7 separate regions of the Homo sapiens genome follow, and all the other regions are linked to region 4. Evidence: promoter capture Hi-C in 16 types of primary human blood cells and fetal thymus (Javierre and others, 2016). All regions are on one chromosome and are shown on one strand. Each heading gives the region's core, a stretch centred on a gene start or on the middle of the fragment in contact. The rest is flanking DNA. Distances are from core to core; before and after follow the strand shown.

The links. The method cuts DNA at HindIII sites, captures the fragments that hold promoters and counts their contacts. A CHiCAGO score of 5 or more calls a contact.
Region 1: a contact is called between a fragment that was not itself captured here and the fragment with the promoter of CD4 in region 4, in 3 of 17 cell types (activated CD4 T cells, non-activated CD4 T cells and naive CD4 T cells). The highest score is 6.7, in activated CD4 T cells.
Region 2: a contact is called between a fragment that was not itself captured here and the fragment with the promoter of CD4 in region 4, in 2 of 17 cell types (non-activated CD4 T cells and total CD4 T cells). The highest score is 5.7, in non-activated CD4 T cells.
Region 3: a fragment that was not itself captured here is called in contact with the fragment with the promoter of CD4 in region 4 in 1 of 17 cell types (total B cells); the score reaches 6.2 in total B cells.
Region 5: a contact is called between a fragment that was not itself captured here and the fragment with the promoter of CD4 in region 4, in 2 of 17 cell types (activated CD4 T cells and naive B cells). The highest score is 6.8, in activated CD4 T cells.
Region 6: a contact is called between the fragment with the promoter of SCNN1A here and the fragment with the promoter of CD4 in region 4, in 1 of 17 cell types (naive CD8 T cells). The highest score is 7.2, in naive CD8 T cells.
Region 7: a contact is called between a fragment that was not itself captured here and the fragment with the promoter of CD4 in region 4, in 1 of 17 cell types (total CD8 T cells). The highest score is 5.8, in total CD8 T cells.

The regions. Positions count from the first base shown.
Region 1 is chr12:6,445,688-6,449,556 of GRCh38, reverse strand. The region is part of intron 2 of CD27 (CD27 molecule); the gene reads right to left. CD27-AS1 (CD27 antisense RNA 1) reads left to right here. Exons shown (of 6, transcript NR_015382.2): 2 at 820-917; 3 at 1,407-1,520; 4 at 2,470-2,596. Among named protein-coding and RNA genes, the nearest start is that of CD27, 2.7 kb to the right of the region's middle. RefSeq lists an enhancer at 3,322-3,441. The HindIII fragment of the contact is 2,383 bases long and covers 59-2,441 here.
Region 2 is chr12:6,324,768-6,328,207 of GRCh38, reverse strand. PLEKHG6 (pleckstrin homology and RhoGEF domain containing G6) reads right to left here. Exons shown (of 16, transcript NM_001384598.1): 14 at 1,635-1,780; 15 at 262-954; 16 at 1-72. The coding sequence ends at 63. Among named protein-coding and RNA genes, the nearest start is that of TNFRSF1A, 16 kb to the left of the region's middle. RefSeq lists an enhancer at 3,112-3,440. The HindIII fragment of the contact is 6,493 bases long and covers 1-3,440 here.
Region 3 is chr12:6,414,045-6,417,439 of GRCh38, reverse strand. No RefSeq gene overlaps it. Among named protein-coding and RNA genes, the nearest start is that of CD27, 29 kb to the left of the region's middle. The HindIII fragment of the contact is 2,514 bases long and covers 845-3,358 here.
Region 4 is chr12:6,787,545-6,790,968 of GRCh38, reverse strand. It overlaps CD4 (CD4 molecule), which reads right to left and starts at 1,441. Exons shown (of 10, transcript NM_000616.5): 1 at 1,307-1,441. RefSeq lists enhancers at 1,535-1,584, 1,400-1,957. The HindIII fragment of the contact is 6,468 bases long and covers 1-3,424 here.
Region 5 is chr12:6,347,092-6,350,739 of GRCh38, reverse strand. SCNN1A (sodium channel epithelial 1 subunit alpha) reads left to right here. Exons shown (of 13, transcript NM_001038.6): 9 at 1,335-1,413; 10 at 1,519-1,576; 11 at 1,735-1,790; 12 at 1,938-2,013; 13 at 2,487-3,648. The coding sequence ends at 2,867. LOC107984500 (a long non-coding RNA gene) reads right to left here and starts at 2,559. Exons shown (of 4, transcript XR_007063191.1): 1 at 2,473-2,559. The HindIII fragment of the contact is 4,954 bases long and covers 1-3,648 here.
Region 6 is chr12:6,373,988-6,377,802 of GRCh38, reverse strand. It overlaps SCNN1A (sodium channel epithelial 1 subunit alpha), which reads left to right and starts at 2,240. Exons shown (of 13, transcript NM_001038.6): 1 at 2,240-2,298; 2 at 2,966-3,435. The coding sequence starts at 3,020. It also overlaps a transcript of LTBR not described here. RefSeq lists enhancers at 808-1,412, 3,229-3,815. The HindIII fragment of the contact is 18,398 bases long and covers 1-3,815 here.
Region 7 is chr12:6,391,358-6,394,974 of GRCh38, reverse strand. It overlaps LTBR (lymphotoxin beta receptor), which reads right to left. Exons shown (of 10, transcript NM_002342.3): 10 at 3,409-3,617. Among named protein-coding and RNA genes, the nearest start is that of LTBR, 9.0 kb to the right of the region's middle. RefSeq lists an enhancer at 3,502-3,617. The HindIII fragment of the contact is 2,950 bases long and covers 695-3,617 here.

The sequences.
Region 1 (3,869 bases), core at 1-2,500, 340 kb after region 4:
AATAACTTTTAATTAAAGTATAATATACGTACAGAGAGGCACGCATGATTGTAAAGCTTAAGAATTTGTACAAATTTGGCTCACAGGCATAACCAGCAGCAGATCAACAAATATAAAATAGCCGGGTGAGGCAGGGAATTGCTTGAACCCGGGAGGTGGAAGTTGCAGTGAGCCGAGATCACGCCACTGCACTCCAGCCTGGGCAACAGAGTGAAACTCCGTCTCAAAAAAAAAAAAAAAAGAAAAGAAAGAAAGAAAATAGCCAGGTGCAGTGGCTTACGCCTGTAATCCCAGCACTTTGGGAGGTTGAGGTGGGTGGATTGCTTGAGCTCAGGAGTTTGAGACCAGCCTGGCCAACATGGTGAAACCCCGTCTCTACAAAAAATACAAAAATTAGCTGGGTGTGGTGGTGCACACCTGTAGGCCCAAGCTACTGGGGAGGCTGAGGTGGGAGGATCGCTTGAGCCCGGGAGGTGGAGGTTACAGTGAGCTGAGATCATGATACTGCGCTCCAGCCTGGGTGACAGAGTGAGATCCTGTCTCAAACACCACCAACAAAAAACAAAACAAAGTATATTAGGGATTCCCAGGGGCTGGGGCTGGGGCTGGGGTTGGTTGGGGGGAAGAAATGGGGAGTCATTGCTAAGGGGTACAAGTTTCTCTGGGGTAACGAAAATGTTATAGAATTAGATAGTGTTGATGGCTGCACAACCTGTGGATACACTAAAATAAATAAATAATAAATAGTTACTTGATTACAGTTACTTAGCCTTTATTTTGTTTGTTTGTTTTTTGACAGAGTCTTGCTTTGTCGCCCAGGTTGGAGTGCAGTGGCACGATCTCGGCTCAGTGCAACCTCCGCCTCCTGAGTTCAAGTGATTCTCCTGCCTCAGCCTCCCTAGTAGCTGGGATTACAGGTGTGTGCCACCACACCTGGCTAATTTTTTGTATTTTTAGTAGAGACGGGGTTTCACCGTGTTAGCCAGGATGGTCTCAATCTCCTGACCTCGTGATCCGCCCGCCTTGGCCTCCCAAAGTGCTGGGATTACAGGCGTGAGAATTTGCCTTTAAAATATACATTTTGCTCAAGTGTAGAGGTCCGATGCTGGGTGGCTGGGTGTTAATTATCCTGGGGGCGGGTGTGGTAGGGCACTAGCTGGGCTGGGCTGGGCTCGCTGGCGGCTGGTTTGAGAGGAGGGTGATTCAGAGGAAGGCAGTGACACCCAGATGTGGGACAGGCTGCAAGAAAGCCTGGTGGGCCTTAGGGCAGACACTTGTGGGGACCCGGGGAGCCCTAGGTGCCCTGACAGGTGGAAGAGGGGTGCAGAAAGGGAGGATGTCAAAGAGAGAATGTCAAAGGTCATAACCAAACCTAACAATTTTCTTCTACTTATGCCTTTTGTCAGGACAAGGAGAGGGACAAATTCCTTCTTGGCATCCTTATGGCCCTGTGACCTGCTAATGAATGCTGACTCTGAGTTGCTACTAGAATTTGGTTTCCTTGTGGCTTCCCAGGAATTGTGAGCCATGTTGGATAAGGACCTGCAAGGGAAGAATGAGGAAGCCTGGGACAGTGCAGGAGGGGAGAGCACTGGTGGTAGAGAGGAGTGATGACAAGGGTCTCCGCCAAAAGGGAAATGGAGGGGTTAAAGAAGCTGCTGGGGAGGGTTAAAAACAATGTGTTCTCACTCGTAGGTGGGAATTGAACAATGAGAACACTTGGACACAGGAAGGGGAACATCACACACTGGGGCCTGTCGTGGGGTGTGGGGAGGGAGGAGGGATAGCATTAGGAGATATACCTAATGTAAATGATGAGTTAATGGGTGCAGCACACCAACATGGCACATGTATACCTATGTAACAAACCTGCACATTGTGTACATGTACCCTAGAACTTAAAGTATAATTAAAAAACAAAACAAAACAAAACAAAAACAATGAGGTGCTATTGTTTTAGTGGTGAGTATCCGGAGACCTGGGAGTTCTATTTACCAGGTATAACCTGGGCTCAAAATTCCAGGCTGACTTCAGGCATGTCCTCATCTCATAGATGCCAGCACTAAGGCCCAGAGAGGGCCGAGCTCATTCAGCCCACCCATCTTCTCACCCCTGACTGCATTTCCCGGGGGTCCTTCTGCAGCCAGGTGCTGCTGTGGTACTTTGGGATCTATTGGCTGAGCTCCCAGAGAAGGGTCATGGATTGGGCTAGTTTGGAACAAGTGAAGGGACTGAAGATGGGCTCAGTATGGGGCGAAGACCTTCAGGAAGGGTCTGCAGAGTGAGTAGGGGGGTTTTGACTAGGAAAAGTTCCAACCCTGCCGGGGCCGCTGTCAAGAGAAAAGCATCTATTACAGTTACATTTTTAAGTTAAGTAGACTGAAGAATATTTCTTGTGTATTAAAGACGTTCCTTTTTGGTTGATTTGCAATGGAAAAGCTTTTGTTTTCTTTTTTTTTTTGGAAACAGGGTCTCACTCTGCTCACTCTGTCTCCCAAGCTGGAGTGCAGTGGTACAGTCACGGCTCACTGCAGCCTCCACTTCCTGGACTCAAGTGATCTTCTCACTTCAGCCTTCTGAGTAGCTGGGACTACAGGTTCGTGCCACCACGCCTGGCTAACTTTTTGTATTTTTAGTAGAGACAGGGTTTTGCCATGTTGCCCAGGGTGTTCTTAAACTCCTGGGCTCAAGGGATCCGCCTGCCTTGGCCTCCTAAAGTGCTGGGATTACAAGTGTGAGCCACTGCTCTGGCTTTTTGTGTGTGTGTGTGTGTGTGTGTGAAAAAGGGTTTTGCTCTGTTACCCAGGCTGGAGTGCAGTGATGTGAGCAGCCTGGACCTCTTGGGGACCTCTTGGGCTCAAGTGATCTTCCCATCTCAGCCTCCCAAGTAGCTGGGACTGCAGGTGCACTACCATGACCAGCCAATTTTTTTAGAGACAAGGTCTCACTATGTTGCCCAGCTGGTCTCAAGCTCCTGGGCTCAAGTCTCTACAAAATATGCAAATACCCTTCTGCCTTGGCCTCCCAAGTGCTGGGATTATAGGCATGAGCCACCACATCTGGTGTTGGTTTTTGTTTTTGTTTTTACGGGACCAGGCACTACAGCTCACACCTGTAATCCTGGCACTTTCAGAGGCTGAGACTAGAAGATTGCTTGAGCCCAGGAGTTCAAGGCTGTGGGGAGCTATGATTGCACCACTGCACTCCAGCCTGGGTGACAGAGCTAGACCTTGTCTCTAAACTAAACAAAACAAAACCCAGTACCAAGAGACCCAGTGACACCAAACACGTTTTGCAAGTAGGTAGTTTAATAGTTACAGTTACCTGGTTCTAAAAAGTGTCTTGCTAGAGAACATTTGTTCAAAGGGGCCACTTTAAAGCCTGCTATTCTAGTGTATACTGGCCGTAGTTTCTGAAATTGTAGCGAAGATGGAGAAATAATAACAGCATTCATAAGCACAACTGCAGATATTATACTTCTTAGTTTAAAAAAAACCTTTTTTTTTGGAACTATAAAATAAAAACACAGGCTACATACATACTCATTTTCTCAAATTGGCTTTTGTGCAAAAAAAGGTTGTTACCTATTGGGTTGCTTTGTTATTTCCTTAGAAAGATGTATTCCAAATTCCCAATGGCCAACCTGCACATGTGCACTCTGGGAACACAGTCAGTTTATTGGTTGGGGGTTGCTTGCCCGAAATCTGGGGTCATAGAGCCACTTCTCTCATTTTATTGTCTTGATCCTATCCATAGACCCGTTCTCACCAATCCCTCAAATTCTATTTATCCCTTTCCTGGAATACTAGATGTCTGCCCACGTTAATTCATGCCCCACCTAGGGTGCCGCATTTCCCAGCATTGGCTCC
Region 2 (3,440 bases), core at 188-2,687, 460 kb after region 4:
CCAGCACTACTGGGGAGAGATCTCCTCTGGGAGAGATGCATGCCAAAGGTCCTCTGCATTCCTCATACCTCTCTGAAAAGACAGGAGGGGGTGTTAGGCGACATTCAGTGGCAACGGGTGAGGGTCAGGTGAAGAGTGAGGCGGAGAGCCCTTCCTGCCTCAGCCCCTGTTCCTGCTTTGCCCTCTTTCTATACTACACCCCACCACCATACAGACATCCCCGTCTGCCCCCTCCCAGGCCAGCTTCCCTCCAGCACTTACGATGCGGACAGAGGGGTGTCCAGCTGAATGATGTGGGGCCCCCGCATCCTCTGCAGCTGGGCCCGAGTCAGCTTCCGTGGCCTGCTGTCCCGGGGCTCCTCGGCCCCCTCAATCCTTTGGCTGGCCAGCTCCTCCCGGATCTCTCTGAGCATGTCCTCAGCCCGCATTGGGCGCAGGGATGTGTGGCCAGCTTTCAGGAACAGAGGCCCCTCTTCTTCCTCCTCCCCTGAGGACTCCCAGGGGCTTTCCCCGGCAGAGTCAGCATGGGTTGGGGAGGAGGGAAGCTGGCCCCGAAGCCGGGCCCTGTGGAGTGTTTCCACCACCACATTCCCTCGCTCGGAGGCCCCATCTTCTTCCTCAGACCAGGTTGGTGGGTCTTCCTGGGGAAGACTGCCTCCTTTTAGGATTCCTTCCGGCAGTTCGGGGGCGCTTCGGCGTTGAGGAGCTTGGGGGTCGGGAGGGTGGGGACGCAGAGGGATGTCCCGGAGTTCCAGGGTGGAGAAGGTGAGGCGAGGGTCCCGCCGAAGGGCTCTTTGGCGTAGACGGCTCAGTGGGGAGCGGGACCCCGTGGGGGTGCCTGGGATCAAAGTGCCGTAGCCAGAGTCTGAGGTATCATCTGGCACAAGGGGAGCATCTTCATCTGTGTCTTCTGTCACCACCAGGTGGGGGATAATGGTCGAGAACTCAGGAGTCCTACAGTTAATGGCAAAGAGTCAGATGCGTAGGGGTCAAGTTCAAGTCCAGGGAGTTTCCCTTGATCACTACATCCAGAAATGGCCCCTCCTCCAAACTTATTTTGGTATCATCTTTCCATCGCACTGTGATTGTTTTTCTCATCTGGCTGGCTAGATTTTAAGCTCCTAAGAGAGTACGGGCTGCCTCTATACTGTTTTATCCATAGCATCTGGTCCAGGATCTTGTATCGAGTGGGTAGTCAGGTTTTTGCTGAGTGGTTCCTGAACTTACCTGATATTATCCTCAATGATCGATTCTTCTTTTCTCCTTAAGCTGCTGCCAAGCAGTGGTGCTATCCTAGACGAACCTCACACTCCCCGGGGATTTGGCAGCTCTAATATTCTGCAGATCCACACCTACCTTCACTCTCGAGCTTGCTCCTCTCACAGTGCTCCTGTGTGACTCTAGGCAGGCTAACTCTGTAGGCTGTCTGTGCCCTATCCCCCACCTCCAACCCAACACGGCTGGTACCAACCTTCCGACCCAACACAGCTGGTACCGAGCTTCCCTACCCTGCCCTACGCCTGCGTTCCTCTATCTATTCCCAATTCCACCAAAAATGTGCAGTAATGCCATTTCTCAGCCTTATGGCTCCCTCCTCCTGCTCGGGGAGACCTTGTAGTCCGTGTGAGCCTTACCTCCCCTCTGCGCTGCTCTGAGAGCCCTCCAGGGAAGGCGTGGAGGGCCTGGTGCTGGGGGACTCCCTGTCCTGGTCCCGATAGAGGGTCAGGAGCTCCCTCTTCTGTTGAACATACTCCTCTGCCTTCAGCTTCTGTAGGGCGGCCTGGGACAGGACACTTTCGTTATTAAGAGCTCTCATTTATTGAGCACTTGCTGTTTGCCAGGCACCCTGCTAAGTGCGTTACATATATTACCTTATTTTATTTTATTATTATTATTATTTTTTGAGACTGAGTCTTGCTCTGTCACCCAGACTAGAGTGCAGTGCCACAATCTTGGCTCACTGCAACCTCCACCTCCTGGGTTCAAGCGATTCTCCTGCCTCAGCCTCCTTAGTAGCTGGGATTACAGGCGCCCGCCAACGTGCCCGGCTAATTTTTGTATTTTTAGTAGAGATGGGGTTTCACCATCTTGGCCAGGCTGGTCTCAAACTCCTGACCTTGTGATCCACCCCCCTTGGCCTCCCAAAGTGCTGGAATTAGACGTGTAAGCCACCGTGCCCGGCCTACATTACCTTATTTAATCTTTACAAAAACCCCATGAACCAGATATTTTTACCCCACCTTACTACTGAGACATGGAGACTCTAAGGTTAAGTAACTGTCTGAGGGGGTACTTCTTACCATAAGAAAGTGGGGTGGTGCCGGGATTTGGTGGCACCAAACTCTGGAGCTAGTGTTGGGGGTGAGTGGGGTGAACAGAATGGCCCTTTTCCTACCTGTACAGGTCTTCCTGCTTCTCATGTCCCATTGGCAGACCTGTTATCAGGTCTTCCCCCTCCTTCAGGAAGCCCTCCCTGGTTGGTGGTGATGGTAGAATAAGTGTTCTGAATTGGTACTGGTTGCTCCTTCAAGAGCATCCCTCTCCTACCACCTGGGCCTCTGCCCTGAAGCTGGGAGGAGCAGGAGGGCAGAACGTGGGCAGAGGTGGGCTTTGTCCCAGGCTGAGGACTCTGCTGTCCTTCAGAGGGAGGAAAGTTCCTAGAAGGCTGAGGAGAGGACGCATTATATTATCTGCCTTCTCCCTCCCTCAGCGATTTCATACAGGTACCATCAAAAGGAAATAGCGCCACCTGAGAAAAAATTTTCAAAGCACTTTTGCACATGTGGTCATTTGATACACATCATTGCCCTGTGGTGTGGAGAACATGAATGTTAGCCCATTTTACAGACAAGAAACCTAGACCTAGAGAGGTGAAGTGACTTGCTCAAGGTGCCACAGGTATGGAGAAGCAGAGCTGGGACAGGGCCTTGCTCTTTGAGTCCTAGTTCAGTCACTGCAACACTTTCAAGGACAGCCTTGAAGGGTAAAGAGTTACAGAAGGTCGGTTGTTGGCTTGGGGAGGGGGAGGGGGAGGGAGAGGGAAGAGAAGGTGGCAGAGCTGAGGTTGGAGGCGGAGGCAAGCCTTGGCAAAAGGGAGGTACTGGTGGCTGCTGTGGGCAGCACTGATATCAGGACTTGCTGGTATGGCCATATCCTTGTTAAAATATTGAAGTCTTCCATGCTGGTAAGGGAATGGCTGCTGCCTGGGCCTCAACCACTTCCCCCATCCCCATGATCTAGCAACTAAGGGAGATAACCTCTGGCACAGCAGAGGACCTCTAGTGCAGCGCTCCTTTCTGATTGGTTGATGCCCATGCTATACTAATTGTTAAATATTTCCACTATCTCCCCAGCTTGAAGTATATGAGCCAGCAACTCCTGGGCACCTGGACTTTCCCAAAGCCTCTCAAGAAACCCGGGGAGCAGCTGGGTCAGGACAA
Region 3 (3,395 bases), core at 852-3,351, 370 kb after region 4:
CACTTGGTGTGTAGGGAACCCCCTGCAACACATTTGGCTATAGAAGTCTTCTTCTATGTTGAATGTTGCAGTGTGAGAGTAGAGGAAAAACACAGTTAGAGGGAGTTTCCCCCACACACTTGCACCAGCAATTTATGAGAGTTCCAGTTGCTCCATATCTTTGCTCATATTTGGTATTGTCAACAACTGGACCTCTGTCATTGTAAAGGAGGATGTTGAGTTTTTTGGTGAAGATGGGTTCCATGTCATCTGTTGACAGCAAGAGCATGATGAGGTAGCATCTGGAAATTTGCATAGAGGAGGTGTGAGCACTCATTGCATGGAGGGAAGGAGCAGGTTGGTCACTGGGATGTAGCAGGATCGCCAGGCAGTGTTAAGGCCCTGGTGGGACCGTAAACTTGAAGTCACAACATGTGAGACTGTCCGTGGTACTCAGAGATTCACTGCAAATGTGAAGAAGGAAATAGTTCAGTTCATCCAGAAGCGGGATGTTTCCATAAAGGTGTGATTAAAGTTCAGAAAAGCAAGGGACTTTATAGTATCAACAAAAGTGACAAAAACAGTGGACTATAGGATGTAAGATGGACAGAAAGGGAAGTGAAAATGGAAGGAGCTGATGCCTGCAAACCAAGCAGAGGAGGCAGAGGACTGGCAGTCCTGAGCGAGGGGCTGAGGCATAGTGGGAATGGTTGAGCAAGAATTGAAGGTTGTGGTCAAAGAGTTTCCACATCTGAAAAGTGGAGGAAATGGCGAGTTGTAATGAGGATTAAAAGTGATAGAACTTGTGCTTCATATGCTGTTACACATTGTATCAATGTTTGTTTGTTTCAATAGTCTACAAGCTTCTTGAAGGTAGGAATCATGTCGCAGACATTCCTGTCCCTAGCATGGCACCTGATGCCAGCAGGTGCTTAGTGAACCTATGAGTGAATCTCTTAGAAGGATGAAGGAAAGAACTGATTTCCCTATAAGACTTTAGTGCTGTGAGAATTTTCTGGACTCTCTCGTTTTAATTTTCTGGACTCTCTAATTTTATTTTTATTTTTATTTTTTATGTTTTTGAGACAGAGTCTCTCTGTGCTGTCCAGGCTGGAGTGCAGTGGCACGATCTTGGCTCAGCACAACCTCTGCCTCCCAGGTTCAAGTGATTCTCCCCTCTCAGCCTCCCAAGTAGCTGGAATTACAGGTGTGCACCACCACACCCAGCTAATTTTTTGTATTTTTAGTAAAGACGGGGTTTCGCCATGTTGCCCAGGCTGGTCTTGAATGCCTGAGCTCAGGCAGTCTGCCTGCCTTGGCCTCCCAAAGTGCTATGATTACAGGTGTGAACCACCATGCCTGGCCAATTTTTTTTTTTTTTTTAATTTTTAGTAGAGACAGGGTTTCACCATGTTGGCCAGGCTGGTCTTTAACTCCTGACCTCAAATGATTCACTCGCCTCGACCTCCCAAAGTGCTGGGATTACAGGAGTGAGCCACTGCACCCGGCCTTTCTTGATCTTAATTGATCTAACAGGCAATAGTTTGTTCAAAATAATAATAGCATCGTGTATTTGGTCATATATATATATGTTACACATAAGTAAAATGAATGATGGTAGTAATACAAAGGATGGGGGAAGTAATTAGGATTATTTTGTTATTATAAGGTACTTGCACTACATGTGAAGTAGTATGGTGTTATTTGAAAGCAGACTTGGATTAGTTTTAACTGTATATTGTAAACTCCAGAGCAATCACTAAAATAAAAGAAATGGAAAAAAAACAAGTATAGCTGATATGCTAAGAGCAAGGAGAGAAAATGGAATAATACAAATGCTCACTTAAAATTACAAAAGCCAGAAAAAGAGCGGAAGATAAAAGTAGGAACAAACAAGAGCAACAATGAGAAAACAGTAACAAATATGATAGGTATGAATCCAACTATGTCAATAATCACCTCGAATGTCAGTGGGGTCTGAATGCATCAATTAAAAGACAGAGACTGTCAGAATGAATTTTTAAAAAGCCCCAACTATATGTTGTCTACAATAAACCCATTTTAAATATAAAGGCACATACAGACCAAAAGTGAGTGGATGGAGAAAGATATAGTTAGCATTAATTAAAACATAGTGGGGCTGGGTGCAGTGGCTCACATCTGTAATCCCAACACTTTGGGAGGCTGAGGCGGGTGGATCATGAGGTCAGGAGTTCGAGACCAGCCTGCCCAACATGGTGAAACCCCATCTCTGCTAAAAATACAAAAATTAGCCAGGGCTGGTGGCGTGTGCCTGTAATCCCAGCTTCTTGGGAGGCTGAGGCAGGAGAATTACTTGAATCCGGGAGGCAGAGGTTGCAGTGAGCTGAGATTGCGCCATTGCACTCCAGCTCTGGGAGACAGAGCAAGACTCCATCTTGAAAAAAAAAAAAAAGGAAAAAAAAACAACAGTGGGCGTAGCTATATTAATTTCAGATGGAGCAAATTTCAGAGTAAGCAAAATTATCAGGCAGAAAGAGGGGCATTAGTTTCAGATGGAGCAAACTTCAGAGTAAGCAAAATTATCAGGCAGAAAGAGGGGCATTACATAATGATAAGGGGGTCAATTCTGCAAGAAGACATAATCCTTGCTGTGTTGCACCTAATAACAGAGCATCAAAAATACATGAGGCAAAAATTGTTACAATTGCAAGGAGAAATGATGAATCCACTATTAGAGATGGAGACTTCAACATCCTTCTTCCAGAAATGGACAGATCCAGCAGGCAGAAAATCATTAAGGATGTAGTTGAAATCAGCAACACCATAAATAACTGGATATAATGAACATCTGTAGACTGCTTCACTCAGCAATGCATTCTTCTTACAGTCACATGGAACATTCACCAAGATAGACCACACTGTGGACCATAAAGCACACCTTAACAAATTTAAAAGAGTAGAAATTATGCAATGCCTGCTCTCAAACTACAATGAATTAAAGTAGAAATCAATAACAGAAAGATAGCTGAAAAATCTCAAAATACTTAGAAATTAAACAATGTGATTCAAACAACCCGTGGGTCAAAGAAGAAATCGCAAGAGAAATTTTAAAATATTTTGAACTAATGAAAATGAAAACACAACTTATCAAAATTTGTGGGATACAGCGAAAGTAGTGCTTAGAGGGAAATTTATAGCATTGCATGCATTATAGTAGGAAAGAAGAAAGATTTATTATACAATCAACTACCTTAGAAACTAGAAAAAAAAGAGTAAACTAAATCCAAAGCAAGCAGAAGAGAAGAAATATAACGATTAGAACAGAAAGCAATAAAATTGAGAACAGGAAATGAGTAGAGAAAATCAACAAAACCAACAACTGGTTCTTTGAAAAGCTTAATAAAATTGGTAAGCCTCTAGTGAGACTAACCAAG
Region 4 (3,424 bases), core at 192-2,691:
AAGGAATTATTGGTCAAAATGTGAAGTAGCAGTGACTTCCCCCATCAGGCCCTGCTCTTAGCCTTGCCCCGATAAAAATGTCCACCACAAGAGCAGGGCATTCAGGAAGCACTATCCCACTCAGAGTGAAATCTTTGAATTATTGAGAACAGGGCCTTTCCGTTTTGAGGGATCAGAACGTACCCCAGGAAACCTCTCTCCCAGAAGAAGCCTATGAGGGGAAAGCAGAGGACACTGGGGATAGCACGGCTTCAAGGCCATGAGGTCTCAGGGGCTGGAAAGGTCTGAGGGCGGAAAGGCTGAGATGGCACAGGGCTTCCCTTCAGGAGGGACAGTGAGTCCTCACTCTCCCTCACACCCTGCCAGGCCCAGGAGGGGCTGCACATCCTTCTGTAACTCTCCCGGCCTCATGAGACCCCTACCACCAATTCTTTTCGAATCCGTTTCTTAAATGACATATTTATCTAAAGATATGTATCTGCAACTTTTAGGGCAATTCATACGCAAAAGCTCAGTTTCAACACTTTCTGAGAATTTTAGCTTTCCTATTTCATGAATCATTTTAAAGCTAACTAGAGTAGAAGTGCCTTTAGACATTGTTCAAAAATCTTAAAAGAGCAAAGAAGCAGACAAAAATTTAAAAATACACACAGAAACACAAAAGGTAGTTAAAAGAGACTATTACATAGATCATGCGACTTATGAAATGCTGCAAGTATGATATTTGGTGTCAATTTTTGGAGATTGTCCCGTTAAGGAAAATTGGTTTTGCAAGAATTTTCTCTAGACTAGATTCCACTTCTTTTGCTCTTTTTCTTGTTTTTATGTTTTTCCTCATCATTTCTTTTTTATAGGTTTCCTCCCACCTTATATTTATTTATTCTTTCTAATTTTTTCCCTCCCCTTCTTCACTCTTTTTCTCCTCTTTTCCCCTCTTCCAGTCTTCTCCCCTCAACTGCCCACGACTAGTTGCCTTCCACGCCTTTCCCAGCCTGGGATAGTCTCCAGTCTTCACTCCCTCTCTGATCTTGCTATTTAGGTCACTACTCCTCTAAGGAGCACCCATTGCTCTGGACACTGAGCTGTGCACGCTGGGGCTGCAGAGAGGAGTCTAGCACAGTCTCTGACCTCTGGAAGCTCACAGTTCCAGTGGGAAATCGCTGCTCATGACCAGTTCCAAGAGAAATGCAAGAGAAGGTGGCCAGAGCTGTGGGCAGACAACTGGGCAGAGCACATTCCTGTGCATCTGCCCCACGTTCCCCTCCCTCTCAGCTCCGGGGAAGGAAGCCGAGTCTGACCACCTTACCTCTGGGCTTGCGTCTTTCTTGCCCGCTGCTTCTCAAACAGGCGTATCTGTGTGAGGACTTGGAGCTCTGCAACCAGGAGCCCAGTGGGGAGGGTGCTTTGTTCCTTCTGCAGAGTCGTGCTTAAATGAAGAGAGACAGGAAGCCCGATGGCAAGGCTCCTCCACACCCTAGGCCTGGGCCGGCCCCAAACGTCACCAGCTGGAGCTGGGTTCCCCACCCCCCAGGCTCTCAGGGAACATGTCAAAGTGAAAATGCCAAAGTCAAGGGAAAAAGTTAAGCAGAATCAGGCTTAAATCAGGAGTCAAACTGTCACTGCCACTGTTAAGCGGCAAGAAAAAGATGGCAAGAAAGATTCCATTAGTGGTAGCGCCATGTCTGACCAGGCTGTGGGGAAAGAAGTGGGAGGCAGTTGGGGGCATATGGGAACAGCAGTGGTAAGCCCACAAACAGCTCCTTGCTCTGGGGCCCTGAGGGCATGTGTCCAGTGGGTGCCCCAGGGGTATCTGTGGAGGCTTTATAGGTGGCCCAGTGTGGAAGAGAGGGCGTGGGCTGAGCAGAGAATATCTGAGACACCAGGAGTGACTGTTAACCAGGCTCTGTTCCTCTAGGCGTCTCTGGCCAGGCCTCAGGTGCTTTCCTCTAGCCCGAATCTACCATGAACTCTCTATGTGAGTATCCGTCTGCCCATTGGACATCTCCACTGGGAAGCTCACCGGACATAGCAAACTCAACACACATCCCCAACTATGCATACCACCTGCATACTACCACCCTCCAAACCTGCTTCTCCAGGCTTCTCACTCAGTGAGGGGCTCACCATCCACCAACTTGCCCAAGCAAAATAAATTGGGTGTAATCTTTGACACCCCCTTCACCCAACTTCTCCCACGTATTTATTTACCAGTTCCTGTGGATGTTACCTTCTAAATGGCTCCAAAATCTACCCAAGTCACTCTGCACTACCACTACTGCCACCATGCCAATCCAAGATGCCAATATCATCCCTTGCTCGGACAACAGCTCCTGCCTCCTCACTGGTCGCCATTCTCCATACCACAGCCCAAGTGATCATTTAAAGATGCACATGTGAGTGTGCGTTTTCCAGTCTGAAAAAAGTGGGGCTGGGAGTGGTGGCTCATGCCTATAATCCCAGCATTTTAGGAGGCCGAGGTGGGGGGATCGCTTGAGCCCAGGAAGTTGAGGCTGCAGTGAACCGTGATTGCACCACTGCACTCTAGCCTGAGTGACAGAGTGAGAACCTGTCTTGAAAAGAAGAAAAGAAAAGAAAAGAAAAGAAAACTCTAGTTCAGCTTGCGACTCCAACAATTAACACAAGTACCCCTATTTGACAGCATTGTACTTCATCTGTAGCATATAGTACTGTGTGCTACTTCTCATTTCATGACACACCGTACTCAAGGGTTGAGATTTAATAAAATTAGTATTTACTGCTTCATTAAAGGCATTCTATATATATATATATATATATTTTTTTTTTTTTTTTTTTTTGAGAGGGAGTCTCACTCTGTTGCCCAGGCTAGAGTGCAGTGGCGTGATCTTGGCTCACTGCAACCTCTGCCTCCCGGGTTCAAGCAATTCTCCTGCCTCAGCCTCCCAAGTAGCTGGGGCTACAGGCATGCGCCACAATGCCCAGCTAATTTTTGTATCTTTAGTAGAGATGGGGTTTCACCATGTTGCCCAGGATGGTCTTGATCTCTCTTTTTTTTTTTTTTTTTTTTGAGACAGAGTCTTGCTTTGTCATCCAGGCTGAAGTGCAGCAGCATGATTTCGGCTTACTACAACCTCCGCCTCCTGGATTCAAGCCATTCTCCTGCCTCAGCCTCCCGAGTAGCTGGGATTACAGGCACCCGCCAACATGCCTGGCTAATTTTTGTATTTTTGTAGAGACAGGGTTTCACTCGTTGGCCAGGCTGGTCTTGAACTCCTGACCTCAGGTGATCCTGATCTGCCCGCTTCGGCCTCCCAAAGTGCTGGGATTACAGGCACGAGCCACTGCGCCCGGCCTCATTAAGGGCATTCTTAAGTAAAAGTGGCATTAATTTTTTTTCTTTTTTTACTGTAAGTACCTGGCAGTGAAGAATGCAATGACTATCATA
Region 5 (3,648 bases), core at 237-2,736, 440 kb after region 4:
TCAGCCTCCCAAGTAGCTGGGATTACAGGTGTGCACCACCACACCCGACTAATTTTTGTATTTTCAGTAGAGACTGGATTTCACCATGTTGGCCAGGCTGGTCTCGAATTCCTGACCTCAGGTAATCCACCTGCCTCAGCCTCCCAAAGTGTTGGTATTACAGGCGTGAGCCACCGCACCCAGCCTATTGTCTTTTTTTAAATAACACACATCTTAATGGGTGTGAAGTGGTATCTTATTGTGGCTTAATTCCCTTATTCTTATACAATTATTGTTCCCATTTTTCTTTTCTTTTTTTTTTTTTTTGAGACGGAGTCTCGCTCAGTCGCCCAGGCTAGAGTGTGCAATGGCGCGATCTCGGCTCACTGCAAGCTCCGCCTCCCGGGTTCACGCCATTCTCCTGCCTCAGCCTCCCGAGTAGCTGGGACTACAGGCGCCCGCCACCACGCCCGGCTAATTTTTTGTATTTTTAGTAGAGACGGGGTTTCACCGTGTTAGCCAGGATGGTCTCGATCTCTTGACCTCGTGATCCACCCGCCTCGGCCTCCCAAAGTGCTGGGATTACAGGCGTGAGCCACCACGCCCGGCCTGTTCCCATTTTTCTTTATGGCGTTTATGTTTTTGTCCATAGCATATATTTCCTTACACTGGTGTATCCTGTTTTGTTTTTCGCCTGACTTAGCTTATTTTCTTTCTTTATTAATTTATTTTTTAGGCCAGGTGCGGTCGCTCACACCTGTAATCCCAGCACTTTGGGAGGCCGAGGCGGGCAGATCACGAGGTCAGGAGATCGAGACCATCTTGGCTAACACAGAGAAACCCCATCTCTACTAAAAATACGAAAAATTAGCCGGGCGTGGTGGCGGGCGCCTGTAGTCCCAGCTACTCCGGAGGCTGATGCAGGAGAATGGTATGAACCCGGGAGGCGGAGCTTGCAGTGAGCCAAGATTGCGCCACTGCACTCTAGCGTGGGCAACAGAGCGAAACTCCGTCTAAAAAAAAAATTAATTTATTAAAAATTTTTTTTTTTAGAGACAAGGTCTCACTCTGTTGCCAGAGTTGGAGTACAAAGGCACACTCATAGCTCACTTGCAACCTTGAACTCCTGGCCTCAAACGACCCTCCCACCTCGGCCTCCCAAAGTGCTGAGCCACTGTCCCTGGCTTAGCTTAATTTCTTAAACGCTTCTTGGTACTGCCACTCATAAGGCATCATTATAATGCTAAATAATGCTCTTGTAAAGTGGGTACCCAGGGATCTTGGGAGACCTCTTGGGTGTGGGGTAGAGAAAGCTGAGGTGCCCTAGGAGAACAGGCATCTCTCTGTACCCACAGGGTACTGCTACTATAAGCTCCAGGTTGACTTCTCCTCAGACCACCTGGGCTGTTTCACCAAGTGCCGGAAGCCATGCAGGTTAGTGTCCCCTTCCCCGGGTACAGGTTGGGTAGAATACAGGTTACCGAGCCAAGCATTTGGGAGAGCTCTGCCCCAACACTGAGCACCTTTCTCCATCCCCAGCGTGACCAGCTACCAGCTCTCTGCTGGTTACTCACGATGGCCCTCGGTGACATCCCAGGTAGAGTGTGGGGAAGGGATGGGTGGGGGATGTGTGTGCCCATGTAATGCTGTGGCCTTCTCTGGGTATTATGTGTATGAGTGTGTTTGACACAACCCTATCCCTGTAAGCCTGAAGCATATGGGAGTGACCTTGATGACACCCCCATTCTTTCCTAGGAATGGGTCTTCCAGATGCTATCGCGACAGAACAATTACACCGTCAACAACAAGAGGTCAGTCCTGCCCTGGTCCCAGCCACAAGAAGGGAATCTTTGGGAGGGAAAATAGACCTAAGAAGAGGGATCGATATGGTTGATTAGAGGAAGGTCCAGGAAATTCATCCTCTACCATTTCTTCCCACCCTCTGCCCCACACCTAAGAAATGGAGTGGCCAAAGTCAACATCTTCTTCAAGGAGCTGAACTACAAAACCAATTCTGAGTCTCCCTCTGTCACGGTAGGTCGTGCCTGGATGGAGCCTGTGATGCTCTGGGGGTCTTACTTAGCAGGGCGGCTGTCGGGGAAAACCAAAAGGTTGTCTCTGTGGGCCAGAAGGCTCTGAGTCTCAAAGGCAGGGGACCAAAGAAGAGGGTCAAGGGAGAGGTTGGGAGGGTTGGAAGAAGGAGCTCGGCCGGGGCATAAGGTCTCTGGGGGTGGTGGGAGGGACAGGCATGCTAGATGCTGGGGTGAAGGCGCTTGACCCATGCCCCCATTTCAGCTGCCCCTAACTGTGGGCCAGTTATCAGTTTTCTCTGGGTGACACTGGCCAGGAGCAGAGACAAAGAGCCCAGGGGGCTGCTGAGAGGCTGAGAGGACTCGGGGGTCTTCAGGGATGAAGGGAGACAGCTTGGTGAGGAGGGAAGGGGGCTCCTCTGCCAGAGTCCATCCAGAACCCTCTGTCCCATCGTCAATGTACCTCTCCTCTCACAGATGGTCACCCTCCTGTCCAACCTGGGCAGCCAGTGGAGCCTGTGGTTCGGCTCCTCGGTGTTGTCTGTGGTGGAGATGGCTGAGCTCGTCTTTGACCTGCTGGTCATCATGTTCCTCATGCTGCTCCGAAGGTTCCGAAGCCGATACTGGTCTCCAGGCCGAGGGGGCAGGGGTGCTCAGGAGGTAGCCTCCACCCTGGCATCCTCCCCTCCTTCCCACTTCTGCCCCCACCCCATGTCTCTGTCCTTGTCCCAGCCAGGCCCTGCTCCCTCTCCAGCCTTGACAGCCCCTCCCCCTGCCTATGCCACCCTGGGCCCCCGCCCATCTCCAGGGGGCTCTGCAGGGGCCAGTTCCTCCACCTGTCCTCTGGGGGGGCCCTGAGAGGGAAGGAGAGGTTTCTCACACCAAGGCAGATGCTCCTCTGGTGGGAGGGTGCTGGCCCTGGCAAGATTGAAGGATGTGCAGGGCTTCCTCTCAGAGCCGCCCAAACTGCCGTTGATGTGTGGAGGGGAAGCAAGATGGGTAAGGGCTCAGGAAGTTGCTCCAAGAACAGTAGCTGATGAAGCTGCCCAGAAGTGCCTTGGCTCCAGCCCTGTACCCCTTGGTACTGCCTCTGAACACTCTGGTTTCCCCACCCAACTGCGGCTAAGTCTCTTTTTCCCTTGGATCAGCCAAGCGAAACTTGGAGCTTTGACAAGGAACTTTCCTAAGAAACCGCTGATAACCAGGACAAAACACAACCAAGGGTACACGCAGGCATGCACGGGTTTCCTGCCCAGCGACGGCTTAAGCCAGCCCCCGACTGGCCTGGCCACACTGCTCTCCAGTAGCACAGATGTCTGCTCCTCCTCTTGAACTTGGGTGGGAAACCCCACCCAAAAGCCCCCTTTGTTACTTAGGCAATTCCCCTTCCCTGACTCCCGAGGGCTAGGGCTAGAGCAGACCCGGGTAAGTAAAGGCAGACCCAGGGCTCCTCTAGCCTCATACCCGTGCCCTCACAGAGCCATGCCCCGGCACCTCTGCCCTGTGTCTTTCATACCTCTACATGTCTGCTTGAGATATTTCCTCAGCCTGAAAGTTTCCCCAACCATCTGCCAGAGAACTCCTATGCATCCCTTAGAACCCTGCTCAGACACCATTACTTTTGTGAACGCTTCTGCCA
Region 6 (3,815 bases), core at 991-3,490, 410 kb after region 4:
CATGCTGCCTTAAGCTAGTGGTTGGATTTCAGGCATGAGCTGGCAAATAGAAAAGGCAGGGAGGTGCTTTTCAGAACCTTTGAGATCAAACAGCCAGGGTGCTGAGCACCTTATTGCAGGGAGGACCATGCCCAATGTAAGGACCTGGCTCAAGGGAGACTGGAGTTTCTAGGGGTCTCTGGGATATGTGGGGCAGTGGGGACAGTGCAGAGACCTTTTCACAGAGCCAAGGAGATAACCCAGCACCCAGAGAGCAGACGAATCCACGGGCTCTGTGTGGGAGTGAGGGAGGCCTTCCCGGCTTTCACATCCAGGTGCACCTGAGCCCCGATCCCCCATGAGTCTGTCTCAGGAAGTAAATGGCAAAAGCGCTAAGTAGATAGCCCCAGAGGAGGAGGAGAATTCTGAATTCTGTTTATAGCTCTGCTCCTATTTTGTTTTCTAACCTCAGAAAACTGATTTATCCTTGGGAAGGGTCAGTTTCTTCATTAGGACAATGAAGAAAAATCCAGCTGTCCCTTCCAAGGGGAGGTATCATGAGCAGTATCAAGGTAAGCAAGGGAACCTGGTTTGGAATCCTGGTTGACACCGGCTTTCACTTTAAGAAGTCGCAAGAGACTGCCGCAAGAGAGGAAGCCACAGACCAGGTTGGACCCTGAGCCTGGAGTACTGCCTTTTCTCTTCTTTGCCTGCTAAACTCCTTGCTTGTCAAGATTCAGCAGAGATGACACCTTCTCTGGGAAGGCTTCCTGAGTCTCCTGCAGTGAGCCCCTAGGCTCCCCTAGCCCTTGGCTCTTATGTCTTATCTCTGAGAAATCTGAGATCTGCACTTTTGTTAGAAGTCCGTTTTAAAGACAATCTTTTAAAGTGTACAAATAGAAACCTTATCTTATTGTATTGCAGGCCTATCTCCTCCCCCGGTGTGTATCAATGCTCAGGCTGGGCCTTTGTCTGCTGGCTTGTGGAGGGAGGCAGGACAAGCCAGTGACCACATTCCTGCACTCTGGGCTGCCTCCTGTGGGGCCCGTGAGGAAGCGGCAGCCTTCCCTGCCGCGTGCAGGGCCTGGGTTGTGTGGGTGGCTCTCCCGAGTCTCCTCCAGCCCTTTTTGGGTCTGATTCTCTGACCCTCCTCTCTCTCCTTGCTCACCACTTGGCACTCCACTCCTTATCCTTTTGCTGCATTAAGTTTGGAAAGAGATTTTGGAGAAAATATAGCCCATCAACGAATTTCTCCTCCTCCCAGGGCCTGTCTAGGCGTGTGCCATGCCCACCCTCTTCCTTTCCAGCGCTGGCCACATCCTCCCTGCACCTTCAGTGCCTGCTTTCCCTGCCTCTTCCTGGGCTCCGGGTCTGTGTCCACAGTGTCCTGCGTGGCCCTCGCGCTGCCTCTGGTTGCCCACATTCCTGCAACTCTGTGACCACAGCAGGGGCGATTACACATTCCTGGCCTGGCAGCCAACAGTGTAAAAAAGAACAGAATGTCCTAGGGCCCCGCCTAGCCCCCAGCTTCACCTGGGCCCCTCCCGGGTCTGGACAAGGTTGGAGGGGGTGGCGAGGAATCAGCAGGAAAGAGGAGGGACCAGGAGGAGGCAGACGCATCCCACCTGAGTGCGCTGCTCCCACTTAGTGAGCGGGGAGGAGACCTGCAGAGACCTCTTCTCTCTTCTCTGCAGGGCCTGAGGGTGAGGCTGACCTGTGGGTGCCCTTGGAGGGCTGCCCACTTGCTGAGCCTCTAGCTCCTGGAAGCACACTTGGGACTCCCCCCTTGCTCTCCTTCCTGGAGACAGACTCCCTTTGGTGCTGGCTCCTTCTATTTGCCCCCACCACTGCCCCCCACCTGCCTCTACTCACTCAGTGCCCCTCCTCCATCCCTATCTCTCTGTCCTTCGCTGTCCCTCTCTATTGTCTCCCTCTTTCTGCCCTCCTGTCCTCCCGGTTCCCCACCCAGGCCCTCTCAGCCTGGCTGGCCCCTTCTCCTTGTGTTGCCCTCCTAGCTGTGGGCTCAGGATCCTTCTACTTGTTCAGATCTTTGCCCCTCACCTGCCATCCTGTCCCCCAGCCTCCTTGCCTGTCTGCGTCTAAAGCCCCTGCCCAGAGTCCGCCTTCTCAGGTCCAGTACTCCCAGTTCACCTGCCCTCGGGAGCCCTCCTTCCTTCGGAAAACTCCCGGCTCTGACTCCTCCTCAGCCCCTCCCCCCGCCCTGCTCACCTTTAATTGAGATGCTAATGAGATTCCTGTCGCTTCCATCCCTGGCCGGCCAGCGGGCGGGCTCCCCAGCCAGGCCGCTGCACCTGTCAGGTGAGGGGGAGGAGAGGTTTGGCTGCCAGATTCAACTGGAAAGGAACCAGTCCCAGTCCAGCCGCAACCTGGGAGTGGGAAGCTGGAGGCAGCCCAGACCTCCTGGAGCCCTGCAGTCCTGGGGCAGAGACAGAATCAGGACACAGCTCGAGGTCAGGGCCAGAGGCTGGAGCTGAGGGCCTAGAGTGAGAGGGGGCAAGGCAAGGGGGGGAGAGGAAGAGAGGCAGGATTAGAGAGAGGAGGCAGGCCAGAAAGAGGAGAGCAGGAGAGACCCAAAGAGAAACAGAAGGCAGATAGAGAGGGAGTGAGAGGCAGGAGCTGAGACACAGATCCTGGAGGAAGAAGACCAAAGGAAGGGGGCAGAGACAGAAAGGGAGGTGCTAGGACAAAACTCGAAAGGTGGCCCTATCAGGGAAGCAGAGGAGAGGCCGTTCTAGGGAAGCCCAGCTCCGGCACTTTTGGCCCCAACTCCCGCAGGTCTGCTGGCTCCAGGAAAGGTGGAGGAGGGAGGGAGGAGTGGGAGAATGTGGGCGCAGGGTGGGACATGGGCATGGCCAGGGGCAGCCTCACTCGGGTTCCAGGGGTGATGGGAGAGGGCACTCAGGGCCCAGAGCTCAGCCTTGACCCTGACCCTTGCTCTCCCCAATCCACTCCGGGGCTCATGAAGGGGAACAAGCTGGAGGAGCAGGACCCTAGACCTCTGCAGCCCATACCAGGTCTCATGGAGGGGAACAAGCTGGAGGAGCAGGACTCTAGCCCTCCACAGTCCACTCCAGGGCTCATGAAGGGGAACAAGCGTGAGGAGCAGGGGCTGGGCCCCGAACCTGCGGCGCCCCAGCAGCCCACGGCGGAGGAGGAGGCCCTGATCGAGTTCCACCGCTCCTACCGAGAGCTCTTCGAGTTCTTCTGCAACAACACCACCATCCACGGCGCCATCCGCCTGGTGTGCTCCCAGCACAACCGCATGAAGACGGCCTTCTGGGCAGTGCTGTGGCTCTGCACCTTTGGCATGATGTACTGGCAATTCGGCCTGCTTTTCGGAGAGTACTTCAGCTACCCCGTCAGCCTCAACATCAACCTCAACTCGGACAAGCTCGTCTTCCCCGCAGTGACCATCTGCACCCTCAATCCCTACAGGTCGGTTAGTCCCTCTGCCCCTTCCCTGGTGCCTGCGCCTGGAAGGGTGGTCCAGGGTGCTGAGGTGCTCACTGGGCAGGCAGAGCCTCAGACCTGAGGGTGGGAACTGACACCCCTGTCCCAGGTAGAGCTCACTGCTGGCAAAATGAGGAGCCTCCAGCTTACTGGACTGGCGTCCCTGCCCAGTGGAGCCATCCTAGCACCCCAGGCTCACCCAGAGTGTGGTTGTTGGAGCAGCATTGCCCTCCCCTGCCCTCTCTTCTCCTTCCCTCCCATTCCCTTCTCCCTCCTGCAAGTGGGAGGGAGTGCTTGCAAAAGGGCAGGGGTGTGCTCAGCTGCATCCCTTTTCTGGAGCAAGATGCCAGCAAAGTATAAGACCT
Region 7 (3,617 bases), core at 920-3,419, 400 kb after region 4:
TTGGGAGCCAGGTTCTGTCCTTTCTTCCAGGTCCTCAGAGGACTGGCTTTTTATCCCCGTGGCGGTTTCCTCATGATGGTAAGATGGCTGCCACAGCTCAGGAGTGATGTTGTCACACGCAAAATCCCCAAAACAAAAAATAAGGGCCAAGGCAAACCAAAAACTTTCTCCTAATGGTGCTTTATACCCTGGAAAGGAAGACTTCCCTGTGCATGTCATTGTACAATTGCAAAGAAGAATGAGTTTATTGGCTCCTGGGATTGGGGGAAGGGCCTCTTCTCCTGATGTCACGGAATCTCTGCTCTAGTACAAAAATGCGGTTCTGTCCTTAGGAAATGTGCAGAAGTCTGTTGGACAGGCAGCAGAAAGAGTCCACCACAGCTGTCTATGTGAACCGCTTTATCTTTTGAAAAGGGAAGTTCTTACTGACCCTTGTTGGGCTGACCCTGCCGGTACTCACAGTGCTTCCTGCGGGAAAAGACTAGAGTGAGTCTCCTGTGAAGTCTCAGACTGGTGGGGAAGCCGAACGCCCACCTCCCATCCACTGTGTCCACTGGAGAAACCGAGCATCCAGGGACTCCTCTGCGTGTGGCACTGTGCGGGCTTGGGGAGGAGTGGCGTGGTCAGAAAGCAGCCATCCCCTTACCGTCCTCATGGTTTTTCTTGGCTCTGCCATCCCAGGGGATGCAAAGCTTCACTCCAAGTTCTGGGATATTCAGGGTGGTAAACTTGCCACAGGATTGTTGCTAGTTGAAATTCTGTTGGGGAGGAGAGAAGCCGGAGAACTCCTACTTTGACATTGTGTTGATGCCACTCTCAAAAAGGGAAATTCTGAATTACCCCATCCTCCCCCATCTCCCTGTGCTACTGCTCTGTCCCCAGTTCCATCCACCTTTCTTCTGGACTACAGCCTTGGCCCCCTAACGGGTGTCCCACCCCCGTGTTGATGTGGGTTGGACTTGGTGTTAGCTTTCTCCTCCCTGTGGTAGAGGATTAGGGTTCTCACAACCAACAGTTACCCCATTGTCAACTGCCATTGCATCCTGTTGCATCTTTTGAAGACCACCATCAAGAGGCTGTCTTTGTTGGTTTTCTGCCAGCTTTTCCTTGTAGACAGGAGCTCCCCTCTACGTGGCCTGTGCTCTGTGGATGTGTCCTGGAGCCTGTACTGACTCCACACTGGCAAAATAGACATGGGTAATGCTGTGGGTGGAACTGTGTCTCCCTCCAAAATCCACGTGCTGAAGCCCTAACTCCCAGGACCTCAGAATGGGGCCTTATTTGGAGACAGGGGCTTTAAAGAGGTGACTAAGTTAAAATGAGGTCATCAGGATGGGCCCTAATCCACTAAGAGAAGATTAGGACACACTCATGCACAAAGGCAAGACCATGTGAAGACATAGGTGGCAGGAAGGCCACCATTAGCAGGCCAAGGACAGAGGCCTCAGAGGACACCAACCTTGCCAACACGTTGACCTCTGACTTCCAGCCTCCAGAGCTGTGAGAAGATAAATCTCTGCAGCTTAAGCTATCGAGTCTGCAGTACTTTGTTATGGCGGCCCTAGAAAATTAATTTAGGCAGCCCAGGTGCAGTGGCTCATGCCTGCAATCTCAGCTCTTTGGGAGGCTGAGGTGGGAGGATCACTTGATCCCAGGAGTTTGAGACCAGCCTGGACAACATAGCAAGACCCCACTTCTTAAAAAAGAAATTAAAAAAAAATTAGCCAGGTGTGGTGGCACGCATCTGTAGCTCTAGCTACGTGGGAGGCTGAGGTAGGAAGATCATTTGAGTCTAGGAGCTGAGGCTATATGAGCCACGATTATACCACTGCACTCAAGCCAGGGCGACACAGTAAGACCCTGTCTCTAAAAAAATACAGGCAGGTATAATTATAAATTTGAATGGTGTCACAAAGGGCTGTGCTTCAGCATCATTTCTTTCAAAATATTTTCCTCCTTTTATTTTGTTGAAAAAAATGTATAAAATTTGTTTTTTATCTAAACACATTAGAACAATTATTAAGAATTCATGAGGTCTGGCCCCAGCATATTGCAGGGGCAGGAGGATTTAACTTTATTTAAAGATACAGCTCACCATTATTTACTTTTCAAAAAAGGAAGTTGGATGTGATATTTTCACAGTCAACCTTAAATGACCCATCCACTCCATTGGATCAGACGCCTTCTGAGGTGTGTGTTTTGCAGCCGCCCCACCCTGATGAGCTCCAGCGACAGAGTTCCTCATATCAGACCCATGAGAGTGGCCTTTTATGGAAGGAGCAGCCGGCTGGCAGCAGCTCCCTAACAATCCTGCAAGCTAAGATCCTCTCGACCGAGCACAGGAGAGAATTCAGGGGCAGGGAGGGGCAAACATTTACTAATAAGAGGGCTTGAGAAGATTTAAAGTCCTTTTTGGGGGTAAAAATAAAAGAAGACAAAAAGAAACCAAAAAAGTAAAAATCATAAATACTCTTTCTGAACCAAAAGGAGGCCAGCCTAGATTTCTGTTCACCAACAAAATGTGAACTTGGCCTCTCTCATTTTATGTCTAAAGTGCACACCTCAGGTCAGGCACGGTGGCTCTCACGCCTGTAATCACTGCATGTTCAGAGGCCAAGGCAGGAGGATTGCTTGAGCCCAGGAGTTCGAGACCAGCCTGGGCAACACAGGGAGACCTGATCTCTACTAAAAATACAAAAAATTAGCTGGGCGTCGTGGCACACACCTATAGCCCCAGCTACTTGGGAGGCTGAGGTGGGCGGATCCCTTGAGCCAGGAGTTCAAGGTTGCCATGAGCCATAATAGTGCCACTGCACAACAGCCTGAGTGACAGAATTAGATCCTGTCTCAAAAAAAAAAAAAAAAATTGCACACATTTCCCTTCAATCAACCTTGGAGAACATTTTTCACTTCGCGTGTGGCTAGATGTTTGAGAGTTGACTGAAAAGTAACACCTGCGGAACATGCAAGAGATCTGATTATTTGAGAAGGCCAGACCATTCTACCCGTTCAAAGAAATTCTGGAAGGGCGTGGTATATGAAGGCTTTTTTTTCCCCAAGAGGCCTCTAAAAGCCAGACGAACTAGGTGCAAATCCCAGCTTTGTCATTTGCAGCTGAATTGGGAAAGTTACCGCTCTGTGCCTCAGTTTCCTCATTTGTTAAATGGGAATCATATCTACCTTAGGGAGTTATTGTGAAGATTAAGTAAGTTAGTACTGTAAAGCATTGAGAACACTGCCTGGCACGTTGTCAGCCATCACTGACGAGACTGTTATTACCTGGACTATACTCACCAGCTCCTCACTGAAATATCTTTATGGGATTATATTTTAGTGTCTTGACCTTTGTCTTTGAGATTGTCTCCATGGAATAGTGTTTCTGTATAAATCCCAAGAAAATAAATTATCTAGGTCCCATTCTTTTTATTTGCATGTGGTTACAATATAAATACACTTGCCATTTTCCTCCCCTTCCAAAACTCTTCCCCATACCTAGGAATCCTACCCAACCCCCTAGTTGTTAATGACTCCCTTTCCTCTCCTCTAGGAGGGGAGGGAAGGAGCGTCCTCCCTATAATTTCATCTTCATGCAGGGTCTACCTCAGTCCACGTGAAGT